Linked DNA regions of Homo sapiens: regions 2, 3, 4 and 5 are each linked to region 1. Evidence: promoter capture Hi-C in human tissues and cell types (Jung and others, 2019). All regions are on one chromosome and are shown on one strand. The core of a region is centred on a gene start or on the middle of the fragment in contact, and the rest is flanking DNA. Distances in the headings are between cores, read along the strand shown. Region 1 holds the start of CDH23 (cadherin related 23). Region 2 overlaps CDH23 (cadherin related 23). Region 3 overlaps SLC29A3 (solute carrier family 29 member 3). Region 4 overlaps CDH23 (cadherin related 23). Region 5 overlaps SLC29A3 (solute carrier family 29 member 3).

The links. Contacts are between HindIII fragments. The study calls those that stand out against the background at their distance.
Region 2: a fragment that was not itself captured here is called in contact with the fragment with the promoter of CDH23 in region 1 in 1 of the 25 tissues and cell types used here (IMR-90 fibroblasts).
Region 3: a fragment that was not itself captured here is called in contact with the fragment with the promoter of CDH23 in region 1 in 1 of the 25 tissues and cell types used here (aorta).
Region 4: a fragment that was not itself captured here is called in contact with the fragment with the promoter of CDH23 in region 1 in 1 of the 25 tissues and cell types used here (adrenal gland).
Region 5: a fragment that was not itself captured here is called in contact with the fragment with the promoter of CDH23 in region 1 in 11 of the 25 tissues and cell types used here (H1 embryonic stem cells, IMR-90 fibroblasts, aorta and 8 more).

The regions. Positions count from the first base shown.
Region 1 is chr10:71,395,600-71,398,198 of GRCh38, forward strand. CDH23 (cadherin related 23) reads left to right here and starts at 1,321. Exons shown (of 70, transcript NM_022124.6): 1 at 1,321-1,719. RefSeq lists a silencer at 840-929 and an enhancer at 1,613-2,124. The HindIII fragment of the contact is 12,378 bases long and covers 1-2,599 here.
Region 2 is chr10:71,448,607-71,451,205 of GRCh38, forward strand. The region is part of intron 3 of CDH23 (cadherin related 23); the gene reads left to right. Among named protein-coding and RNA genes, the nearest start is that of CDH23, 53 kb to the left of the region's middle. The HindIII fragment of the contact is 3,738 bases long and covers 1-2,599 here.
Region 3 is chr10:71,337,058-71,339,656 of GRCh38, forward strand. The region is part of intron 2 of SLC29A3 (solute carrier family 29 member 3); the gene reads left to right. Among named protein-coding and RNA genes, the nearest start is that of SLC29A3, 19 kb to the left of the region's middle. The HindIII fragment of the contact is 3,390 bases long and covers 1-2,599 here.
Region 4 is chr10:71,430,961-71,433,559 of GRCh38, forward strand. The region is part of intron 1 of CDH23 (cadherin related 23); the gene reads left to right. Among named protein-coding and RNA genes, the nearest start is that of CDH23, 35 kb to the left of the region's middle. The HindIII fragment of the contact is 6,567 bases long and covers 1-2,599 here.
Region 5 is chr10:71,357,948-71,360,546 of GRCh38, forward strand. All of the region lies in intron 5 of SLC29A3 (solute carrier family 29 member 3), which reads left to right. Among named protein-coding and RNA genes, the nearest start is that of CDH23, 38 kb to the right of the region's middle. RefSeq lists a silencer at 1,638-1,727. The HindIII fragment of the contact is 3,004 bases long and covers 1-2,599 here.

The DNA.
Region 1 (2,599 bases), core at 71-2,570:
AAGCTTCATGGGGCACAAAGACCAAGCCTGTTTTGTTCTCCATCCTATTCCTAGAAACTATTTCAGTTAGCTAGCACATAGCAGTGACTGTGAATGAATGAATGAATAATGAATGAGCGAATGGTAAGGAACTGGAGCTTTGGAACCAGATAGATTCTGGGTTCAATACCCGACTCCACCACAGGGGCAAGTCCCCAACCTCCTAAAGCCTGTTTCTCACTGTAAAACTGGGATAATGGCAGGGCCCACCAGAAAGACTTTATTGAAGATAGAATGAGTTGAGGCCCAGAAAGTCTCAGCCCAGAGCCTGGCTCCAGGCAGGTACTGTCAATGTACTGACTGGAACAGTGACAGCTCGGAAATCCTGTCATGTGAGAAATAGTTTTAAAAAATCAGAATGCTTAGCCCCGGGGAAGTAAAGATCAAAGGTAGGGGATAAACCTCTTCCATTACCTGCATATGGACCCTTTCTTGATCCAGCTGTCTCAGAAAGCCATAAAGTCTCTGTCCCTATAGGTGTGCAAAAAGGAGCCGGGAGACCATGACTCGGGCACTGCAGACGGAGCTCCCGCAGGGGTGAGGGCGCCTAAGTGACCTCACGGGTCTCCTCCAACCCGGGGTCCTCCATTTCTAAGCACTTGGAGGCCTCTTGAGCTCTAGTGAGGGAGGAGGCGCAGATGGGAGCGCACGAGTCGGGTGGGCAAAGGCAGCTGGTTGGAGAGAAGCGTAGGCCAAGAGGCCCCAAGGACTAGAGGGACTGCTCAGCGACTCTGGGAGCAGAGAGGGGGCGCTTAAAGCCAACAGATGGCGCGGGCTCACCTAGGCCGAGCGCCCGCTCGCCCGCCCGGGCTTCCCGGGAGCGTTACCTCGCTCTGCCTGAGGCGCGGGGCGGACGAGACGCTGGGGGCCCCATCCCCCTGCGCGCCCCTCTGCGGGACGGCTGGCGGCCTGGCGGGGCACTGCTCTGTCTCGCACCTGGGGCCTCTTCCGCGGGCTTCCTCCCTGCCCCTTTGGGGGATTCGTAGAGTTGCCACAGCAGCCGGTGCCATGACATCGGCAGAGGGCAGCTTCGCCAGCACTGAAATATTCATGCCCTGAGCGCCCGGCGGGGCTCGGCGCCGCTCCCGGGGGTCCGGGCGGGGCCGGGCGGGAGCTCGGGGGTCCTGGCGGCCTGAGGGGTGGGGGAGCGCCGAGCGCGGGCGGGCGGGCGGGGGCCGGGCGAGGCGGGAGGTGAGGGAGGGAGCTGCGGGAGGCGGGGTCTGGACGGCGGGGGCCGAGCGGGGCGGGGGCCGAGCGGGGCGGGGGAAGCAAGGGAAAGTTGATCGCGGACTTGAGCGGCGGCGGCGGCTCGGGAGAGAGGGACGCGGGCTGCAGGCGCGATGCTTGGCTAGAGGACGCGTCCGACGGCGGCCGGACGCTGAGGTGGTCGGGGCTAGTCAGCCCGGCCTGGGCATGGAGCGCGGGGTGGCAGAGCCTCTGGACGTTTGGGGCGCGCCCAGTCCGAGCCCCCGGCGCGCCTGAAGTTGCGAGCGGCGAGCGGCGAGCGGCGAGCGGCCCGCGGAGACCCAGGAGCTGCCGGCACGCCGCGGATGAGCCTTCGCGCCGGCGGGAAGACGCGGCGGTGGCCAGGGCCAGAGCAGGCGGCCCGCGGGGGCCGATCCGGCGGAGAGCAGAGCCCGAGGCGAGGCGAGGCGCGGCGCCGCTGCACACACGCACACGGTACCCGGAGCCACGCACCGCCTCTTCCCTCCTCGCTTCCCTCTCCTTCCCCTCGCCGTTCGCCCGCCGCGCGGCGGGGAAGTTGGTGGTGACCGCGGCTGCCGAACCACTTGTTCCCAGCGCGGCCATCGCCCGTGGCGGGCGCTCGCGGCATCCTTCGGTCCCAGGCCCCTGGCCCTAGCCTCGCGCCCCGCTCCGAGCTCCCCGACGCGCGGCAACTTTGATTCCTGGGAACTCGAATTCCATTCGCGTTGGCCTTGGGAGGACAGGCATCCCATCCCCCATCCCCGGTCCTGGGACCGCGAACATTTGGGGGCTTTGCTCTCGGCGCTACGGAGAGGGTCCAGGTCTGGGGTGGAGAGATTTTCGAGAGTGGAGCGCGTTGGGATCCAATCCCCTCCCCTTCTGAGCCCTGGGTCCCCATTTGGACAGTGGGGATGGGGTGGGGCGCACCCCTACTGCGGGCTGGGCAGAGGCGCTGAGGGGAACTAAAGGCACGTAGTTCTCCCCTCCCCTCATCAAGTCCCTGTGCCCGCGGGAGACCCCAGGGGACTTACACATCCTCCCAAATTCGGTCCAGCTATGGGAAGACGCGCCCCTCGAGGAGCCGGGAGCCTTTTGCGGCTCTCGCTTCGCCTTCCTGGCCCTGGAACTGGTCCGCTACGAGCGGTGCTGGCTGCCCCCAGGAGCTGGCACCCGGGAGCACTGCCCCTCATCTCCACCGTAGGTCAGCCCAGGACTCGAGCAGAGCCCGCGTGTTCCAAGGCAGTGACGGCGCCAGCCGGCGGGGACTCTGCCTGGCTTTCTCGGAGCGGGCACCTAGAGAGGCTGCCTCCGTGCTGTGAGCGGAGATCCGATGCCAGCCGCCGCCCCACTGCGA
Region 2 (2,599 bases), core at 27-2,526, 53 kb after region 1:
CAACATCTGTTTCTCGCTGTGTAACCTTGGGCACAGCACTGCACCTCTCTGGGCCTCTATCTCCTCATTTCAACAATGAGTGGGCATTGGAAAGATGAGCCCAGTGGACTTTGGCTGGGGCAGCCTGGCTGGCCCCAGTTGTTTCTAGGTTCTCAGAGGAGACCAGCCTGGAGCCCTCTGCTGGGTGCTGGCACCCACTTGTCCCTGGGCCAAGCAGATGGTGGGTATGGACTCACATGGACGTGTGGGCTCCATGGGTGCAGGCCTCCCACCAGCAGGCCAGGGAGAGGGGGAGGTTGAAATGGCTTGTCCAGGGGACTGGCCTTTTTCCTGCCATGGGGAGTGGGGTGGTCTAGAGACTTGACTTTGAGACTTGGCTCTCATGAACTGTTCACTCTTTGACTCAGGGTTCCAGTCACCAAAATGGGTGACTGGATCCCTCACTGGATTGTTGGGAAGTTTACATACAATACCACCACCTCTAAAGCTTCCAACCCAGGAATGTTTTGTTTTTACTAAAGGGAGAGCCCATGTGTGGCCCAGGGATGGCAGATTGGGCTGTCCTACAAGCCATGGGCTTTCAGGGTGGACAAACACACAGATAAGCTGGGTCCAGGGTGGTGCTCAGTGCCAGTGGCAAGAGGCAGAGCCCAAGCCAGGCTGACCGTGTCGGCTCACCAGAGGTTGGAGTTGTAAGCAGATCAAACTTCCAGCTCGAGGCCTCATTACCTGGCTTCTCCTTAGACACCCAGTGATGGTCAGCTCGTGGGCCTACAAGGCAGCTCACTCTGTGCTGTGGGACGGTTCCAGGAAGAAAAAATTCTTCCTAAGATTAACAGGAAACCTGCCTCCCTGGAACTACCCATTGGGTCTAATTCTGATTGCTGGAGCCTCATAGATTAAAAATGATAATATAACACATATGACATACTATATATATAGATATATAGATATATCATAAATTATTATAACAACAGCATTTATTGACTGTTCAAGGCAGTGTCCTAAGTGTTTTTATGCATTAATTCATTTTAAAAATTCCTTTTAAGAATCAGAGGTAGAGTTGGGCTACAGGGTCTATCTATATGTAGCTTCTGTGAATGTGCTTTCCTGGGTTAGAGACTGAGACTTTTATCCACCCCCAACCTTCTGAGCCTTCTCGTTTTGTATGCTCTTGCCTGCGTTCCAACAGGGGGCCAGTGGCCTGGGAGCAGAATGGGAGGGCACAGCATGGCCATCTGAAATCCCTCACAGAGCCTACGTGTTCATTACTATCTCCTCACCTATCTCAGGCTCCAGTTCCCTCTGTGTAATGTTCTTTTTGAAGACCGTCTACCAGCCGGAGAAGACAGAAGCCAAATGAAGTCATTAACTAGTGCTGCCTTCTCCTGGTCTGTTCACATCGCCCTGCTTCCCCAGACAGGGCCCTGAATCCCTGCATGTCTTGCTCCAGACGTTAATATCAGTTGTTGGCAGCAGAGCCTGGAATGCGTGGAGTGGCGTGAGGGCAGATCAGCAGCTCAGTCCCTGGTCAGGCTGGTTGGCCTCACCCACACCTTGGCCCTGCCTATCAGCCCTGAATGGTCACATGATGCCTTTAGCATGAGGGACAGGTGCTGCAGGGGTGCTGTCTCCCACTTAACCTCCTGAATCTACTTTTTTTTTTTTTTTTTTTTTGAGACGGAGTCTCACTCTGTCACCCAGGCTGGAGTGCAGTGGCACAATCTTGGCTCACTGCAGCCTCCACCTCCCGGGTTCCAGTGATTCTCCTGCCTCAGCCTCCTGGGTAGCTGGGATTACAGGCACACGCCACCACTCCCAGCTAATTTTTTTATGTTTTTAGTAGAGACGGGGTTTCACCACGTTGTCCAGGCTGGTCTCAAACTCCCGACCTCAGGTGATCCACCCACCTCAGCCTCCCAAAGTGCTAGGATTACAGGCGTGAGCCACCGCGTCTTGCCCTGAATCTACTTGAAATGCCCCACCAGCCTTGCTGATGTCGAGATCACCAACCACCTCTGTGTTGCTAAATCCCATCATTTCTTCCCAGACCTTGTGGCCTTCAATTGGTTGATCTTTTTCTCCTCCAGGACACCACCCGCCCCTTCCCAGCCTCTCTGCTGGTTCCTCCCGCACCTCTTAGCATCAGAGGGCCCCAGGGCTCAGCTCTTGTCTCTCCTCTCCTCATTCTCATTCCCGTGGTGGTCCCATCTAGCCTCCTGGCTTGGACACTACCTATATGCTGACAACTCCTAGCTTTATATTTTCTGTCTGGGCTGCTCTCAGGGAAGACTCCAGACTCCTATAGCCACCTCTCTACTCAACATTTCTGCCTGATGTCTAAAGGGACATTTTCATCCTCAGTTTGTCCAAAGCTGGAATCCTGACCTCCCCCAGATTCCTGCCTCACCGGCAGCCTTCCCCATCTCAGCTGTGGCTCCATCCTGCCAGTTGCCCAGGCCAAAAGCTGGGACTCATTCCTGTGCCTCTTTTTCTCCCTCCCCTCCCCTCCCATCCCTTAGGGCATCCTGTTGGCTCAGTCTCCAAAATCATCCCAGAATCTTCTCACCTCTCGGCCCTTCCACTCCCATCACCAAGG
Region 3 (2,599 bases), core at 65-2,564, 59 kb before region 1:
ACCCCAGATTTGTCCTTCCCTTGGGCCTCTGGCCTCCCCTTCAGCCTGGCTGCATCTAGCCTCCTGCCTGGCCCCTGGAACAGGCATTGCCCCCCTTCCCTGCCCAGCCAGCCCTCCCAGCTGGTCCCTGCCCTTGGCCACACACCCATTATCTTTCCTGAGCCAGTGCTCCAAACACAGGGCCTTGGAACTTGCAGAAAGGTTACCAGCCCCACCCCTTATGGGGACATCTGCCCTCTGCTCACCTCATTTTGCTCAGGAATGATCTGGGCTGATGCCCAGGGCAAGGGCACCTCCCCTGCAATATCCCAGGCCGCAGAACTCAGCTATCCGAAAGCGGCAAGTTTGCAATGGCAAACTATTCTTGGCTCCAACCTGCTCGCTGCTGCTAATTTCATGCCCCTGTGATCCAGGTAACGCTCTGCTGCCTTGAGCTGCCACCCCCAGGCTTGAATCGCTTTTCCTCGCCCGCCCGGTAGGAGCCCAGCTGCCTCTGCTGCTGCTTCCTGGAGGTGGGGGCTGCACAAAGCTGCCTCGCAGAAGCCACTCAGCAGCACGGACACTGAGTCTGCCGCAGCTCGTGACTAATTTGCTGCACTTATTTCAAAGTGCCCAAATGGCATTCAGGGAAGAGAAAGCTTAACCAGGGTCTGCCAGAGATAAACGGGCTCATTTCGGGGCCTCCCTGCCCGAAGAAACCTCTTTACCTGGACTCTGAGCCTGGAATTGAATTCTTCCAGAAGAGACCCTTAGCACGGAGCCTCTCAGTGTGGCGGAGGAGAGGAAATGTGGCCCGTCATAAAATGGGCCTCACATCTGGCCAGCTGGCTCTGGTGGGCTTTTAAATTGTGTTTGAAGAGCATCTCTCCCCTTTCCTGGTGTTCGCAAACTGGGTCAGTGTAGCAAATGGAAATGAGTTTCCTTCTCACCATAGCGAGCAACTCAAGTGCCCCCCTGCCCAGGCCAGCAGTGGCTCATCCACATTCACCCACCATATGGGGGTACCCTGGCGCCTGGCACCCCTGGGCCAGGGCCTGTCCACAGTCTGGGTGAGGAACCCCCATGCCCACCCTGGGCCAGTCTGGGTGAGGCCCCCATGCCCACTCTGGGGCTCTTTGCAGGGGTTGCAGAGTAAGGCGAGAGCTTGGAAGCCTGCCCCATGCTGCCCACCCACAGACACTCTTTAACATGGTCTTTGCTTAGCTGCCAACCATGTCCGTCAATTTTGGGTAACTGACAGAGGTGGGGGCTTTTCTCTTAATCTTTTTCTTTTCTTTTCTTTTTAAAACTACGAAGACCCATAGGCCTCTGGAAATGCTGAGGGGAATGGGCGGTGGGATTTGAGAGAAAAGATTAGCTAATGTATTCCTTTACTCTTGTCTACCACTGCAGAAAGAGGAGAAAGAAATCAAACCCTGGCCGGGCACCATGGCTCAGCACCTGTAATCCCAACACTTTGGGAGGTCAAAGCAGGTGGATCACCTGAGGTCGGGAGCTCAAGACCATCCTGGCTAACATGGTGAAACACTGTCTCTACTAAAAATACAAAATTAGCTGCGTGTGGTATTGTACGCCTGTAATCCCAGCTACTCGGGAGGCTGAGGTGGGAGAATTGCTTGAACCCAGGAGGCGGAGGTTGCAGTCAGCCAGGATCATGCCACTGCACTCCAGCCTGAGCGACAGAGCGAGACTCTGTCTCGAAAAAAAAGAAAAAAAAATCAAACTCTGTCATTTGCTGGCTTGGGCAGGTCACCTGCACCTTAGGGCCAGGTAGAAGAAAGACACTGCCCTCCCTGAGAGGAACGTGTCTCACATTCCTGCTTGCTGCTGGAAGGCATGTGGCTGCCAGGCCCAGCATCTGAGGCTTCCTGGTGATGCACCGCGACCCCAGTGATAGTGTTTGGGCTTGTGCCTCCAGGAGACAGACAACCTCAGCTAGAGCAGCTTATACATTTGTAGGGGGATGATAAATATGTCTCCACCCGGTCTCTGCCCTGCTCTGCAGCAAAAGATGCTGCCACCAGCACTCCCAATGTGGACCTCTGTGTACCTCTGGGAAATTCCTCTACCTCTGTGAGCCTCAGGCTGCTTATCTGTAAAATGAGAGCGATTCCAGCCCTGCCTCGCCCTCACTGGCTGTGGTAAGAGCACATGGGCTGGGGTGTGTGCAGGCCCTCTGGAAGCTGTGCTGCTTGCATGTCAGAGTTCCCTGGCATTCTGCAGAGCTCCCACTTCCCCACCTGGGTTAACTGACTTTGATGCGATTACTTAGAGACTGGATGTTGAGTCCCACACCCTGCCTGAGCTCCAGGTCATTGCAGGGTGCAGATAACGCTAGGGAGATAGTGGTGCGCAGGGAGATCAGATCTCACATTCAGGGAGCACAGCTATCCCTCTGTTCCTCAGAGCTGGGCCTCTCCCACGTGGGTTTGAGAATTCAGAGGTGACTGATGGGCCTCTCTGCCATTAGCGCTCTGGGGGTTGAGTGCCTTGGCTGCTTGAGGTTCTGCCAGCCCTCCTGTGGATGGGATGGACAACACAGTGTGGTTTGCTTCAGCTCAGGAGGGGCTGTTGGTGCTAAGGAAGCCTCAGGTTGCTT
Region 4 (2,599 bases), core at 71-2,570, 35 kb after region 1:
AGCTAGGAGTCGGATAGCATGAGTACCACTCACATTTTCTTTAAAGAGAGGGAGGGGCCCATGTGCTAATATGAACATACAGAACTTCTGGAATGAGACCTTGAGCGTTGCCTCTGGGAAGGAGTTGTGGGATGGGGAGACAGGAGATTCGCTTCCTGCTGTACACCCTTTCTTTTTAGTTATTTACTACGTCCGTACACTGCTCCCCAAAAGAATAAAGTAAAATAAATCTTTTGCTGTATGATATTTTTAAGAGTCGGTGAGGGGAACTCAGAGACACCAGGCTTCATATGGGGGAGGCTGATGTCTGTGGCTCCCCACCCTGGGGGTCTCAGGTCGTGCCCTGCCTTCCTGCCCCAGGCACCACTTCATGGAAGCTTCTGGGAGGGATCCAGGGGAGGGTGCAAGAACAGAATAGCCATGAGGTGGTCTTGTCTACTCTTTCCATCACAGCAGCCTCCCCGGCAGTGGCCTGGATAGTGTGGGCTTTGAAGCGTGGTCATCGGTGACCTACAAGGGCTTGGCCATTAGCAGCCCTAATGGTGTCATCTGCAGGCGCCTTCTTGCACGCACGAACCTCTCTGTGTGTAGCAGTGGTGAATAATCACCAAATTGTATTTGATTTCTGCAGCGCATTTCTGTATTTCTATTCAAAGTTGAGTGCATCTGATTTTATGGGAATTCATAACAGTTCAAACTAAATCGTGGCACCATGCTGTGAAAATCTCTCACTCCCGAGAAACTGAAACGCTGCCCAGATGTCCCCTCCTGCCCTTTTCCTTCCCCCTGCTCTATTCTCTCATGTCCCCCCCTGCCTGCTAGGCCAGGAGGCGTTGCCTGTTGGCAGGCAGCAGTGTGCCCTCTGCCCTTGTACCTCCTGACCGGGCTGCAGGGAGAGATGGGAGATGGTCACGGTGGGGGCCCTGCCCCGGGAGTTAGGCCCAGAACTGCCTATTTCCCAAAAGAGGGGAGTGTGCCTTGCTCCAGCAGAGACATGGAATGTGCCTTTCCAGTCTAGGACACCAGGCTTCAACGGGCTTCCTCTTAGGTTTTTTTCTGGGATTCAGAGGTGTTTGGTGAAACCCCTACAGGTCATGGGGAGCTTTGCAAGGAACCTGGCTTCCTCCAACCTGGGCAAAGGAGTGGGAACAGGAAGGAGGGGCCCTCCAGGGTTGTGCAGTGGGGTGGGGGCATTTTGTGGATGCATCTCCTGGAGGGGGTGGCAGAACGCAATTGTGTGTGTGTGAGTGTGTGCACATGAGTGTGTTTGAGAATGTGTGTGTGTGCATGTGTTTGAGAGTGTGTGTGTGCATGAGTGTGTTTGAGAGTGTGTGTGTGAGTGTGTGAATGTGTGGGTGTGTGTTTGAAAAAGTGTGTGTGCGGTGTGTGAGTGTGAGAGTCTGGGTGTGTGTTTGAGAGTGTGTGAGTTGTGTGGTGTGTGTTTGTGTGTGTGTGAGTGTGTGGGTGAGTGTGTGTTTGAGAGCGTGTGTGTGAGAGCATGTGAGTGTGTAGGTGTGTGTTTGAGAGTGTGTGTGTGCAGTGTGTGGGTGAGTGTGAGTGTGTGGGTGAGTGTGTGAGAGAGTGTGTGTGTGTGCTTTCAGGCACAAGTTTTCTTTCACACTGTTGGTCCTCACCTGGGGAAAGGAGAACCCTCAGTATGGGGCCAAGTGCCAGCCTTGGGCCTTGTCTCCGAGCCTGGGTTTTAGCCCATTCTGCTGCTCGTGGCTGCCTGCAGGCAGAGCATGAGGGAGCCCTCCTGGTGATGGGAGCAATCCGACCTCCTCGCCTAGCGAGGAAAGACCCAGTGGGGCTGGACTCGGGATGGAGAGGCAGCGCCTCCCGAGCTGGGACCCACGGCCCAGGATAAAAGGAGCTCCATGTCCCTAGAAACGTCTGGTAGCAGCCCAGGGAGGGGTGTCAGCCAGAGGACCGCCGAGGACCCTCCCAGCTCCCAGAGTCTCCCCTGGTGTTTGCACCTGGGACTCTGGCCTTCAGGGAGGCTCAGGACAGTGCGGGAGAGAACGTCTAATCAGGGTTGTCCATGTGTTCATAGGCTGTGGCAAGATTTTGGTAGGGTGGCCATAAATGAGGCCACTGATGTCAACACGTTGAATGCTTATTGCAGAAGATAGGCGGAATGCAGAAACTAGCTAGAAGACAATAAAACTTCCCATAACCTCACCACTCACACAACACCCTGGCTTCACTCCACAGTGCTGTATGCGCACACTCCCCTGCATACATTCACACACTAGGAATCCAAACACCATCCCCTGTTGCTTCCTAGGGACATCCCACAGTTGAGCCAGTCCCCTTTTGGGTATCTATCATAAGTTACGCAGCAGTGGGCATCCCTGTGGCTTGGTGTCCACGTACAGCTATGGCAATTTCCTCAGCTGAGGTTCAGGAGGTGGAATTGCTGGGCCACAGGGTATATGCATTTTCAGGCTCTTTGGACAATTTTCAAAGACGGACTGATTCTCTGTCCAGTTGCCTCAGCTCAGGGGTTTGGGAGCCCTGCTGATCTTGCCCCTCTGGTGGCGGTAAGCACCACCTCCCTGCTGGTGGCTCCCACACTTCTGCTTCCAGCCCATCCTGG
Region 5 (2,599 bases), core at 64-2,563, 38 kb before region 1:
CTGATGCGGCCCTGTTCCACAGGAAGCTATTTTTTGCAGTGGCACAAAGCTAAGCAGTTTATGTGTATATTTTTGTTTATGATTTATGACAATCTGTGCAGCTGTGATCGTATTTTCTCACTTGAGAGCTGGGGAAACTGAAGCTTTGGAGAGTTCACAAGCATGCCCCAGGTCACTCATCTGGTGAGTCACGGCAGGACTGGAGCTGTTTCTGGAGTAGCCTCTCCCCACCGGATCATGCTGCATCCCTGGCTCGCAACTGCAAGGGCCTTATCTCATCATTCATTCTCCCTGTCCTCATGAGGAGAGTCACTTCGTTAACCCCTAGAACCCCCAGCCTTTCAGCAGAACAGCGATTCCCCCTGGGCTGGTAGTGAGCCACTTTCCCCAGCTAAAGGATTCTTCACCGCTTCAGCAGTCCTCAGGGTTCTGAGGATAGGAGGGGGCTGATCTGCTTGAGCTATGCAGTATCCCAGGCACCTACAGACCCCTGGGCTGCCCAGTCCTCCCCGCCCCTTCAGGGCTGTCATCAGAAATTGCCTAGCTGTGGCTCCAGGCTGACGTCCCCGTGCTTCCTGTGCCCTGGCTGGCTCTCCATCCCCCAGCATCCTGTACACTGCCTGGCACCTCAGCGTTGTGCCTTAAATGATTCTCCAGCCACTGAATGAACAGAGGAACAGGAGGGTCGCCCCACTCCTTGTGTTGTTTGCTCGTGTCCTGTTTCTGGTGCTTTGGGTGGGTCTGTTTCCAGCAGGGTAGCCAACCTTCCTTGCTTGCCTAGAGCCAAAGGAGCTCCCAGGACAAGGGACTGTAAGTATTAAAACCAGGACAATTTCAGGCAAACCAGGATGGTTGGTCAGCCTAGCTCCTAGTCTCATTTGGGCAGGCCAGAGTCCCTTCCAGCTGAGCATGTGAGACAGAGAACACCCAGGACCATGCTATCCTGTAGACGCTTCTATTTCTTTTTCTTTTTCTTTTTTTGTGATGGAGTCTCACTCTGTCGCCCAGGTTGGAGTGCAGTGGCACAATCACGGCTCACGGCAGCCTTTATCTCCAGGGCTCAAGCGATCCTCAAGTTAGCCTCCCGAGTAGCTGGGACAACAGGCATGGGCTGCCACGCCCAGCTAATTTTTGTATTTTTTGTAGAGACAGAGTTTCACCGTGTTGGCCAGGCTGGTCTCAAACTCCTGACCTCAAGTGATCCACCCGCCTCAGCCTCCCAAAGTGCTGGGATTGATTACAGGCACGAGCCACTGTGCCTGGACCGAAGCTTCTGTTTCTTTGCTGATTAAAACTAGGGTCTGGATCTGTGGGCTCACAGACACTTCTCTAAGGATGGGGCTCATGGAGAGAGCTGTGCTCCCAGGTCTGCTTGGACTAAATCTTCCTGAAAAGGCAAGCTCGCCCGTCCTACATTTGGGAGAGTGAGGCGATGCAGGAAAATTTGGAAGAACTTAGGAGGAAGAGCTGCGACCAGAGGAACTTGGTGGGGAATTTCCTGAGAGCAGACTTAAGGCAAGGACCTGACGACGCTGAATAGAGGGGAAGTAAGAATATTCCTTTCCGTAGATAGCGATTGTGAAACCAGACAGGGCTTTTGGCTGAAGCACCCCGTTCACCGTCACTGAAGAGTGATTCTGGATTCTGGGGACGGGCCCTCCCACACACCCACTCACCCACATGGGTGTTATCTGCAGGTCCTCAGGGTGGGAGGACTGACTGGGGCTTCAAAACTTCTTGGCTGTTTGAAACCTCCATTTTACAGAGGAGGAAGCAGGCCCAGAGAGGGGTGTGCCTGGCCCAAGATCACACAGGGAGGCAGAGACAAGGCTGAAACCAGAACCAAGTTACTGCTTACACACACACCCCTACACCAACTCCCTCTGTTTGAGCTGCATTAATACAGTCAGCCTGTGTCTCCTGGTTTTCAGATACCTGGGACCCAGAGAGGTTGAGTGGCTCAGGCAAGGTCACACAGTAAGGGAAAGTGATCTAAGCTTTCTTATTGGTCAGAGTGCAGAAGTTGGAAAGATTAATGATATTCAGTGTTGAGGATAAGGAAGACACTTCTATAGGCTGCTTCTCAGTTCTTTCAACAGTTATGTGTTGAAGGGCTACTCCGTGCCTGAAGATTTAGCTGGAAACAGTCAAATGTGGTCCTTGCTCCAGGAACCTGTCTTCTTCTTCTTTTTTTTTTTTTTTTTTTTTTTTTTTGAGACGGAATCTTACTCTGTCACCTAGGCTGGAGTGCAGTGATGCGGTCTTGGCTCACTGCAATGTCCATCTCCCGAGTTTAGGTGATTCTCCTGCCTCAGCCTCCTGAGTAGCTGGGACTACAGTTGCACACCACCATGCCTGGCTAATTTTTGTATTTTTAGTAGAGGTGGGGTTTCACCATTGGGTCAGGCTGGTCTTGAACTCCTAACCTCAAGTGACCCGCCCGCCTTGGCCTCCCAAAGTGCTGGGATTACAAGGATGACAAGAACCTGTCTTCTACCGAAGGAGACACATGATAAACAAGTAAACCAATGCAATTACTGTAGATTGTGGTTAGTTCTTTTGAAGGAACTAAACAGGTGCCTCTGGTAGAGATGAACAG